Regions from separate parts of the Homo sapiens genome. Here region 2 is linked to region 1. Evidence: promoter capture Hi-C in 16 types of primary human blood cells and fetal thymus (Javierre and others, 2016). All regions are on one chromosome and are shown on one strand. The core of a region is centred on a gene start or on the middle of the fragment in contact, and the rest is flanking DNA. Distances in the headings are between cores, read along the strand shown. Region 1 holds the start of EPB41L2 (erythrocyte membrane protein band 4.1 like 2). Region 2 overlaps EPB41L2 (erythrocyte membrane protein band 4.1 like 2).

Region 1 (4,070 bases), core at 59-2,558:
CCATTTCAGAGGCAAGAAGTTCAAGAAACTGGGGAAAGATGTGATTCAGAAAAGCGAAAATATAGCCACAGCTCCTCTAGATTCCACCTTCTCTCCCATCCACCCAGGGATCTTAAAATTAAGGGCAGCTGTGGTGTTGATGGGGCAATTCAATGAAAGACTACCCGGGTCCGTAGGGAGGGCTCCATACGCAGACCCCTCCCCAAAATAATAGACTCTAGGCAGTAGTTCTTCTCACCAAACCTCATTTTATTTATACATATATATAAAAAAAAAAACTTGACCTCAGGGGAGGTGAGCGATCTAGAGAAGCATAACTGATGTCCCACCACAGACCTCAGGCTGCTGGGGGCAGCGTCTGCGCCTGGGGATGGCGTCCCCAGACGCCGACTTCAACCCTGTCGCGCTCCTTTAGGTTCTCCTCGCCCTTCCCCGCTGCTCACCTAAAAATGCTCCCAACCCTCGGCCCCCAGGCGCAGGAGGAGAAAAAACAAGCCATCTGTGGTGAGATGGCCTGGGTGTGGGAATTGTAAGGATCGGAGCACGAAACACGCGTCCCTCTCCGCAGCTCCCAGACGGCGCAGGCGGCAGCTGGGGGCGCGGACGCGAGCCTACAGCGGGCCCGACCCGCACCGCGCGTGGGGCTGGCGCGCCGCCCTCGCCCGGCTTCCCGCAGTCCCCACGCGCGCGGCCGGCCCGCGCTTCCCCTCCTAAAACCTTCCTCCTGAAGGGCGACGCCGCGGCCGACCCCCTCCCCGCGGGGGGGATGGAGCCGGATTTTTCCCGCTGTTGCTCCACGGGGCCCGGACGCGTGACCTGAGCCCACGGCACCCCGGGGGGGACGGCGTCCTCCCCGTGCCCCCGCCTTTCCTGGCTCCGCCGGGACGCGGCCCCGGTCCCCCGGAAGAGGGAAGAGGGGGACCGCGGGGAGCAGCGAAGCCGGGATCCGGCCCGGAGCAACAGGACCCGGACCCCCGGGCAAGAATCGGGTCGGGCAGAGACCGGGAAGGAAAGGAGAGAGGGAGCCGCAGAAAATCCCAAAGCCGGGCCCCCTCTCCCCGCCCCCCATCCCGGTGGGACCGTCCCGCCACCGCTTCCTGCCCGGAATCAGCTTCCCAGCTGCAGCCAGAGGAAAAATCTGAGCCGCCCCTGCAACCCCACACTGACCAGTCGCCCGGCCCGTGCAGCCCCGCACGCCTCCTTACCCCGACGCCGTACCTCAGGAGCTCGCTCGCCGCGGGACCCGTCCCTCTTCAGTCCCAGCCGCCGGCAGCCGCGCCTGCCTCCTCCCTCCGCTAGGTTTCAAATTGAAATTCCCTGACTGGGGCCGTCAGAGGACTCTGAGGGCCGGCCCCGCCCCCTCGCGGCGGAAGCCCCTCCCGCGACCCCGCCGGACGAGCCCCCGGCGCGGAAACCCCCGCGGGCGGTCCCGCCCCCGACGCCCAGGCCCCGCCCCTGCGCGGGCGGGGGACCTTTCCCGCGGGATTCGGCAAGCGCGGCCGCGGAGACCCGGGGGTGGAGGACGTCTTTCGCCCTCAGGGCAGCCCGGATGACAGCTAATGCGCCTGGGCAAGGCGTTCTCAACTGCGATTCCCGGCCTTAAATGTCCTCTCAACTTTTAAAAGTTATTTATTCAAAGTGCATTTGCTGACTAAACCTTCACTGAGCGCCTTCCTAGAGGTAAACACTGGAGCAGAGCCTGGAGATGCAGAATAAGGAAAACTGGGTCTCCCTCAGTCTAGAGTGGAAAAAGTGCTTTCACAGGAAGGGCATTGAAAAGGAACCATTTATTCTTCCTGTGGGAGGGACAGGAGGGGTTGGGGAAACCCCGTGGAGGAAAGGCCTCCCCAGAGTAAGTAGGATTTCTCTGGGCAGAGGCCTGGGAATCTGGATTGCAGAGCATGACCACGGGTGAAGAAGAGTCTGGAAAAAACCTAGTTTGGGGCTAAATTGTGGAAAGCCACAAGCACACACACGCTACCCTTCTGGTTCTTTTCTTTTGTACAATGAGGTCAATATGTTTCAGATTCAATATATTTCATCTTTTGAAGGTTTGCACGTCAAGCTGGTGTCAAACAACGTGTCCAGCTCACTGCCTCCAGCATCTGCCTCACACGCACCTCTTATCCCTTTTACTCCTCCCACTTTTATTGAGGTCTTTAGTGATTCCACCACAGCCAAAGTCGTCTCCCTTTCTTTCCTAAACAGAACCTTTTCCAAAATTAACAATGTCAAATGAAACCTCAGTAACAATACCTTCCAGTTAACAAAATACATTCACATATTTTATCATCATTTGATCCTCACAATCACCCTATGAAAAAGGCAGGCACGTTTGAGCTCCATTACATCAAAAAGATTTGGGAAGATAAATTATTTGCCAAGGTCCTTCTAGTAAATAATACAAATAATAATAGTTAAGGTTGATTGTGTGCTTTATGTGCTAGGCATTGTTCTAAGTCCCTTACATGTATTAATTTAATCACAATCCCATATGCTAAGTATACAAGTTAAATTTTATAAGGTGTGCTAAAACAGAGCAGAAATCTGATTAGACAGCAATTCTGGTAAAGGAGACCTGGGAATTTAATGAGAAAATACTATTATTTTCTCATAATAAGAAATATGCAGCAGATTTACAACGAAACTAATGAAACAAACTTCGGGATCTCTCATTTTCACAAGCCTTGAAACTAACTTTATAATTTTGTATTTCATTTTGTGTTTTTTAAAGAGTCCCTAAAGTCATATAAGCTTTTGGGCCCATAAAACATTGAACCACCCTGATGGAGCCCCCTTTAAAATGCTAGTGCAAAATAACATAAATATAGGCATAGTTAATAAAATATAATGCCCTTCTCATAAGAAAGGATATGCTTACTATACTCTGCGTTGAAGTACATGAATCACTCCTATATGCCACCTCTTAAGAAGAAATTTTTCCCTCCAAAAGAAAATATTGATAAGCTAAATTATAACCATAAATGGGTGACCTTGAAAATGTGGGAACCAGCAAGATTTAGCCTAAAGAGATGATTAAAGGTGATAAAAAGGTTGTCAAATGTATAAAGGCTATTGTGTGAAAGAAGAATTGAACTCTGTTTTTGGACACAGCCTTACATAGCCCTGGCATTTTAATGGAATGGAACAGATTCAGTGAGGACCTAGCAGGAACTGAGGGCAGAAAAATCAAGTCCCAGAAGCTATAAGGAAGTGAAGAAAACTGATGGAAGTGGCATCATAGAGATTTAGCAAACAACAGGTGGTAGTCCAGACAACCAGGGAAGTCTAACAAGAAGAGAAGAGGGGTTTGAACAGAAAGAAGGACAAAGTCCTGGAATAGGTGACATCCAAAGACTCAGGCAGGCGGAAGCACTGTCAGGACTACCAGGCTGCAGTTCAAGGGCAGAATGTTAATCCCCAGGAAAACACTCTAGGTAGAACAAGATTGGGTCTTCCTGCTAGACACACTGTAGTAACAGGCAAAGGACTGACACAGAGAACAAGAGAAGAATATAGGTACTAGTCCTGAGAGCTACCACATCCAAATTTACCATAATAGCCTCAATCCTGGGCACTATGTGCAAGCAAAGTTAGTCTGGAAGTATGGACTAGAAATGTACCCAGGACCTCCTTAGTGCCCTTACTTACCAACTCACCCCCATAGGCGTGGCCTCTGGAAGAGCTTGATCTCACTATATCCATGAGTCATCATTTTATCTTTGTGCCTTCTGTGTGCCAAGCCCAAACCAGGTTGGAGTGGCTCTGGGTTGAGGACCTGCCCTTCCTTTACGTGGTCCACAGGCAGCAAGACCTGAAAATGCCCTCTCCTACTATTTCTAAGGCATTCTCAAGCTTCATCGTGAATTCATGCAATCCCAGTTCCACTGCCACAGCAACAAACATATCACACAAATGACTGCAGGAGTCACTCTGTCACCTGGCCAACTTTGGCTCAGTTTCAACTGGACTACAAGACCCTGCTTTAGTGACTTAAAACAACCATTTTATTGCTTGTGGTTCTTTGGGGCAGGAATTCAAGCAATGCTCAGCTGGGAGGCTCAACTGTG
Region 2 (4,169 bases), core at 548-3,047, 130 kb before region 1:
CCAGAATAAACAAGCCATGCGATATGACTGCTGGTTACCCTGTCCGACTCTCAGATGACTGTGAGGACTTGCCAAGCTAGCACTCAATCTTTATTGACCCATATGTGTCAGTTCCTATGTTAAGATACCAGGGAATCAATGATGAGCACGACAAACATGGTCTCAGGAAATTTATATGCAACTGGCAGAGAAAGAGAATGAATGGGAAGCCAAAAATAAAGCATTATGTATCTACCAATTTGGACATAATTAGGTACCTGGCCCAATTGGCTCAAAGAAAAGTGACCAGTAGCCTACAAGATAGCCTGATACAAGAGCTCTGCACAACAACAATCTTTTGCTCTGGGGATGAGGAATAGCAGATAGAATCACGACTTCCCTCAGGGAGATTAAATACAAGACAGACAGTCACACACACACACACACACACACACACACACACACACACATACACGCACAGTCATAAAGTGGTATAAACAGTAGGAAAGACAGCGAGAAGGCAATTAGCAGAAGCCAAAGGTATCACGAGGCCAACCTATATTTGCCAAAGTTATTTTCCACTGGTCCCACTCATCCCATGAGTTATATACACCACTCATTCCCAAAAAGAGCAGCAGAGTGAGACAAGAAAAATTCTCCTTGTTGCATATGATTACTGAGCACCAAAACACCTATTTGTATAACAGACACCCTGAGGAGTCCTGCAATGCAAAAACCCTGTTTCCCATTATTCCTTTCACTTGGGAAACCTGATGTTTCCCAAAACTATTTAGCAAAAGAGCCCACTATTTTTTAATACAACATTTACTAATGTATTCTACAACAGAATTTTTGTTTTAAAGACCACACCTCACTAAATGAGGTAGGAAAGAATTACAGGTTGAGCATCCCAAATCCAAAAACCCAAAATATGAAATGCTCCAAAATCCAAAAGTTTTTTAACGCCAACATTATGCTCAAAGAAAATGCTCATTGGAGCATTTCGGATTTCCAATTTCTTGATTTGGAGTGCTCAAGTATTACAAAATCTGAAAAAACTTGAAATACAAAATATTTCTGGTCCCAAGCATTTCAGATAAAAGATACTCAACCTGTACCACCATCTGACTCTAACGCAGATGTAGACACTGGTATTCACATCTGTTTGATTCAAAAATGCCAAAAGATAATCCAGTTTAAACTGGTCCAAGATTAGATATGCCCAGCTGCCTGGGAGAAGCAAGAAATTCTCATAGACAAAAATCTCAAAAAACATACATTAAAAATCACAAAACGACAAGGAAACCAGACACCATTATTGAGAGACACAGTATCAGAATCAGATCTTCAGAGACTGCACATAGTAGAATTATCAAGAACAAAACACAAAATATATATGTTTTATGTGTTTATAAGAAATATTTTAAAATATGACTAAGGAAAAAGTGAATATGAAAAAGCAGGTTTTGAAAATAATCAAATAAAACACCTAGAAATGAAAACTATAGTAACTAAATTATAATCCAAATGGACAGGATATGACAAAGCTGAAGAGAAAACCAGTGAACTGGAAGATAGATCTGAAAAAAACTATCCAGAATGTGGCTGAGAAAGACAAAGGGAAGGACAATATGAAAGAACTTCACAGACATGGAGAACAGAATGAGGGGTCTACAAATATCTCATCAGAGTCCTAGATGGAGATGAGAGAGAATAAGGGAAAGGCAATATTAAAAGAAACAACGCTATAAAACTTCAAATTAAGAAAGCTCAATGAATCCCTAGCAAAATTAATAAAATTTATTAATCTACAATGATTTTATTCTACTAATTTATTATTTATACTCAACATATAAAAGGTTCTAACACGCATTATTTTTTTAAATAGCTATAATAAAGTCATCAAGACAAGAGGGAATGAAACATAAGCTAGGGAATAAAAAGAAGGACTGAGAAGGAAAATTGTAACAAAAAAACACAGAAAAGTCACTCCTAAGAAACCTAAAACAGATGTGCTTTGGAGGCTTATTCAAAAAGGCAAACAAAATAAGTAGTACATTTCTTCTTATATTCTAAAAAGCATCAGATTATCAGGTGACACATATTAAATGCTACATATGAATGTTCCAAGTTATAACATTTATAGCACTAATGTTCAATCAAACTCGATTGGGTCGGCTCAGACAGCAACACCATCTAGTGGCTCACAACTTTGTCTTCACACTGTTCACAACACATTCCATAAATAATAATTCTCTTTGGGGTGGGGGTGAAGAACCAAGGCACAATGCATAATGGTAGCACATAAAAATGTACAGGGGCATGTAAGTTGAAATTGTTCCTCAAAATAGTTCTTCCTTTCCCCCGAGATTCTGGTATGTTCCATCTTTCTTGAGAATCACCAATTCTTAACAATACGGAAGAAAAGTACTGCAGTATAATCACAGTGTCCTGGGCTTGACCCCCAGCCCTACTCTTAACAGCTCTGTAACCACAGTAAGTTACGTAACTTCTCTATGCCTCAGTTCCGCTCTTTAAAAGTACCCACCTTATAATGGTGATGAGATAATTAAATGAAGTATGTTTAAAGTGATCAATAAAATGTTTGGCTTATTACATGGATTCATTAAAGCCAGCTGAAATTACAAGACCTTTTTGAGCTGCTCTAAAATAATAATTGATTTTAAATATGATTTTAAAGTTTTCCATTATCTAATCAAACTTTCTTATTTCACAAATAAGAAAAATAAGGTTATAGAAAGTTTATCTAATTTTTCAGTCTGATTTCTGAATTTCTTTTAAAATAATTAAATTATTATGTATGCTCTTAATATACACTAATATTCCACACTTCTATCCAGGAAAGTAATTTTCTTCCATTAACATTGCTTTTAAAAAAAAAAAAATCAACAACTTGAATTCTACTGTATAAAAAGGACTACAAATATACATTTGTTAACCAAGCAAAATATACACATAATTTTGCTTCATAACTTTCACCTAAGATACCAGTACACGTAGTTGCTTCATTAGTTGTCACAGCAATTTTGGGGTATTGCCCCAGATAAAGAGAACCACTTACTGACTTATCAAGACATATTCTAATTTTTTTCCTCTGATTTATTTACAAGTGTCAAAACTACCTCTACTTGTATACAAATCTCCAAAATATCCTTCCCTATGAAGCCTGTTCCAATCTCTCAATATTGCATCATTCTCCTTCAAGAGCATTATTCACATCTATGGCACTTATTCTTCTATTCTACTCCTTTTGATACTTATTACTTTCAGATACTGAGTTCTTTAAGAAAGAGGACATCTTACTTCAATGCCTCCTACTGAGTAATTAGCTGACTAGTAGGCCAAAAGATAGCTGCTGATGGAACGGCTCAATGCCATAAGGCCAGTCAAAAAGTTGGCAGAGTTGAGTCTAGAATTCAGGCCTGCTGGTTTCTTACACAATCTTCCTTACCTAGCTGATGGACTACCAACCCATAATGTTCAAGGACCTAAACCAAACACACACTGCCAACTAGTTTCTGGGAGAAGACCAGCACAGACCAACACTTCATTTTCACAATTCTACATTATGCTTATACTCTTCCTTAGTAAACTAGGGCATTTCCAAATACATTTTGGGAACTAGAGGGAAAAAGCCAATCTGCCCCTTCCTCTTAAGAGTAGGCCATACCTCATCTTTATGCAGAAAGGACAGGGGGTTTCCTAGTCTTGCACATTCCTCCACTAAGACATCACTTTCGCTGTCATTTCTTCTTGCTATCTGAAGCATGCCTTTGCTTTGTTTCTGTTCTTACAGTAGAATCTTCATAAAGTACAATCCGAGTCAATCTCTATTCTAATAATATGATATCAAGTTTATTAAACAATAAAAACCATGCAACTGTTAATAAAACTTGCCAAATACACTTCAAAAAGAAATATTTTGAATATAACTTTCTATATTAAATATCAACAAGCTTAGCTATCTATTTTTCGTCTGTCTGCCTCTCCCTAACCCTACTTATACCACTCACTAGCAATATAAAGTTAACGGGTTGAAAACTTTAAAACAATAAACAAAAAAAGCCCTTTGGTCTACTTTCCAGGTATCAGAGTTTTAGTTTTTTTAAAAACCTATATATTATAGATACCCACAAAAGAGAGACAAAACAAGACAATTTGGATGGGCT

The links. The method cuts DNA at HindIII sites, captures the fragments that hold promoters and counts their contacts. A CHiCAGO score of 5 or more calls a contact.
Region 2: a contact is called between a fragment that was not itself captured here and the fragment with the promoter of EPB41L2 in region 1, in 3 of 17 cell types (M2 macrophages, endothelial precursors and M1 macrophages). The highest score is 7.1, in M2 macrophages.

Annotation. Positions count from the first base shown.
Region 1 is chr6:131,061,937-131,066,006 of GRCh38, forward strand. It overlaps EPB41L2 (erythrocyte membrane protein band 4.1 like 2), which reads right to left and starts at 1,309. Exons shown (of 20, transcript NM_001431.4): 1 at 1,219-1,309. It overlaps LOC105378004 (a long non-coding RNA gene), which reads left to right and starts at 1,467. Exons shown (of 3, transcript XR_942993.3): 1 at 1,467-1,680. RefSeq lists silencers at 766-865, 1,206-1,545. The HindIII fragment of the contact is 3,039 bases long and covers 1-2,752 here.
Region 2 is chr6:130,929,449-130,933,617 of GRCh38, forward strand. The region is part of intron 3 of EPB41L2 (erythrocyte membrane protein band 4.1 like 2); the gene reads right to left. Among named protein-coding and RNA genes, the nearest start is that of SMLR1, 100 kb to the left of the region's middle. RefSeq lists a silencer at 1-55 and an enhancer at 2,040-2,209. The HindIII fragment of the contact is 4,313 bases long and covers 1-3,954 here.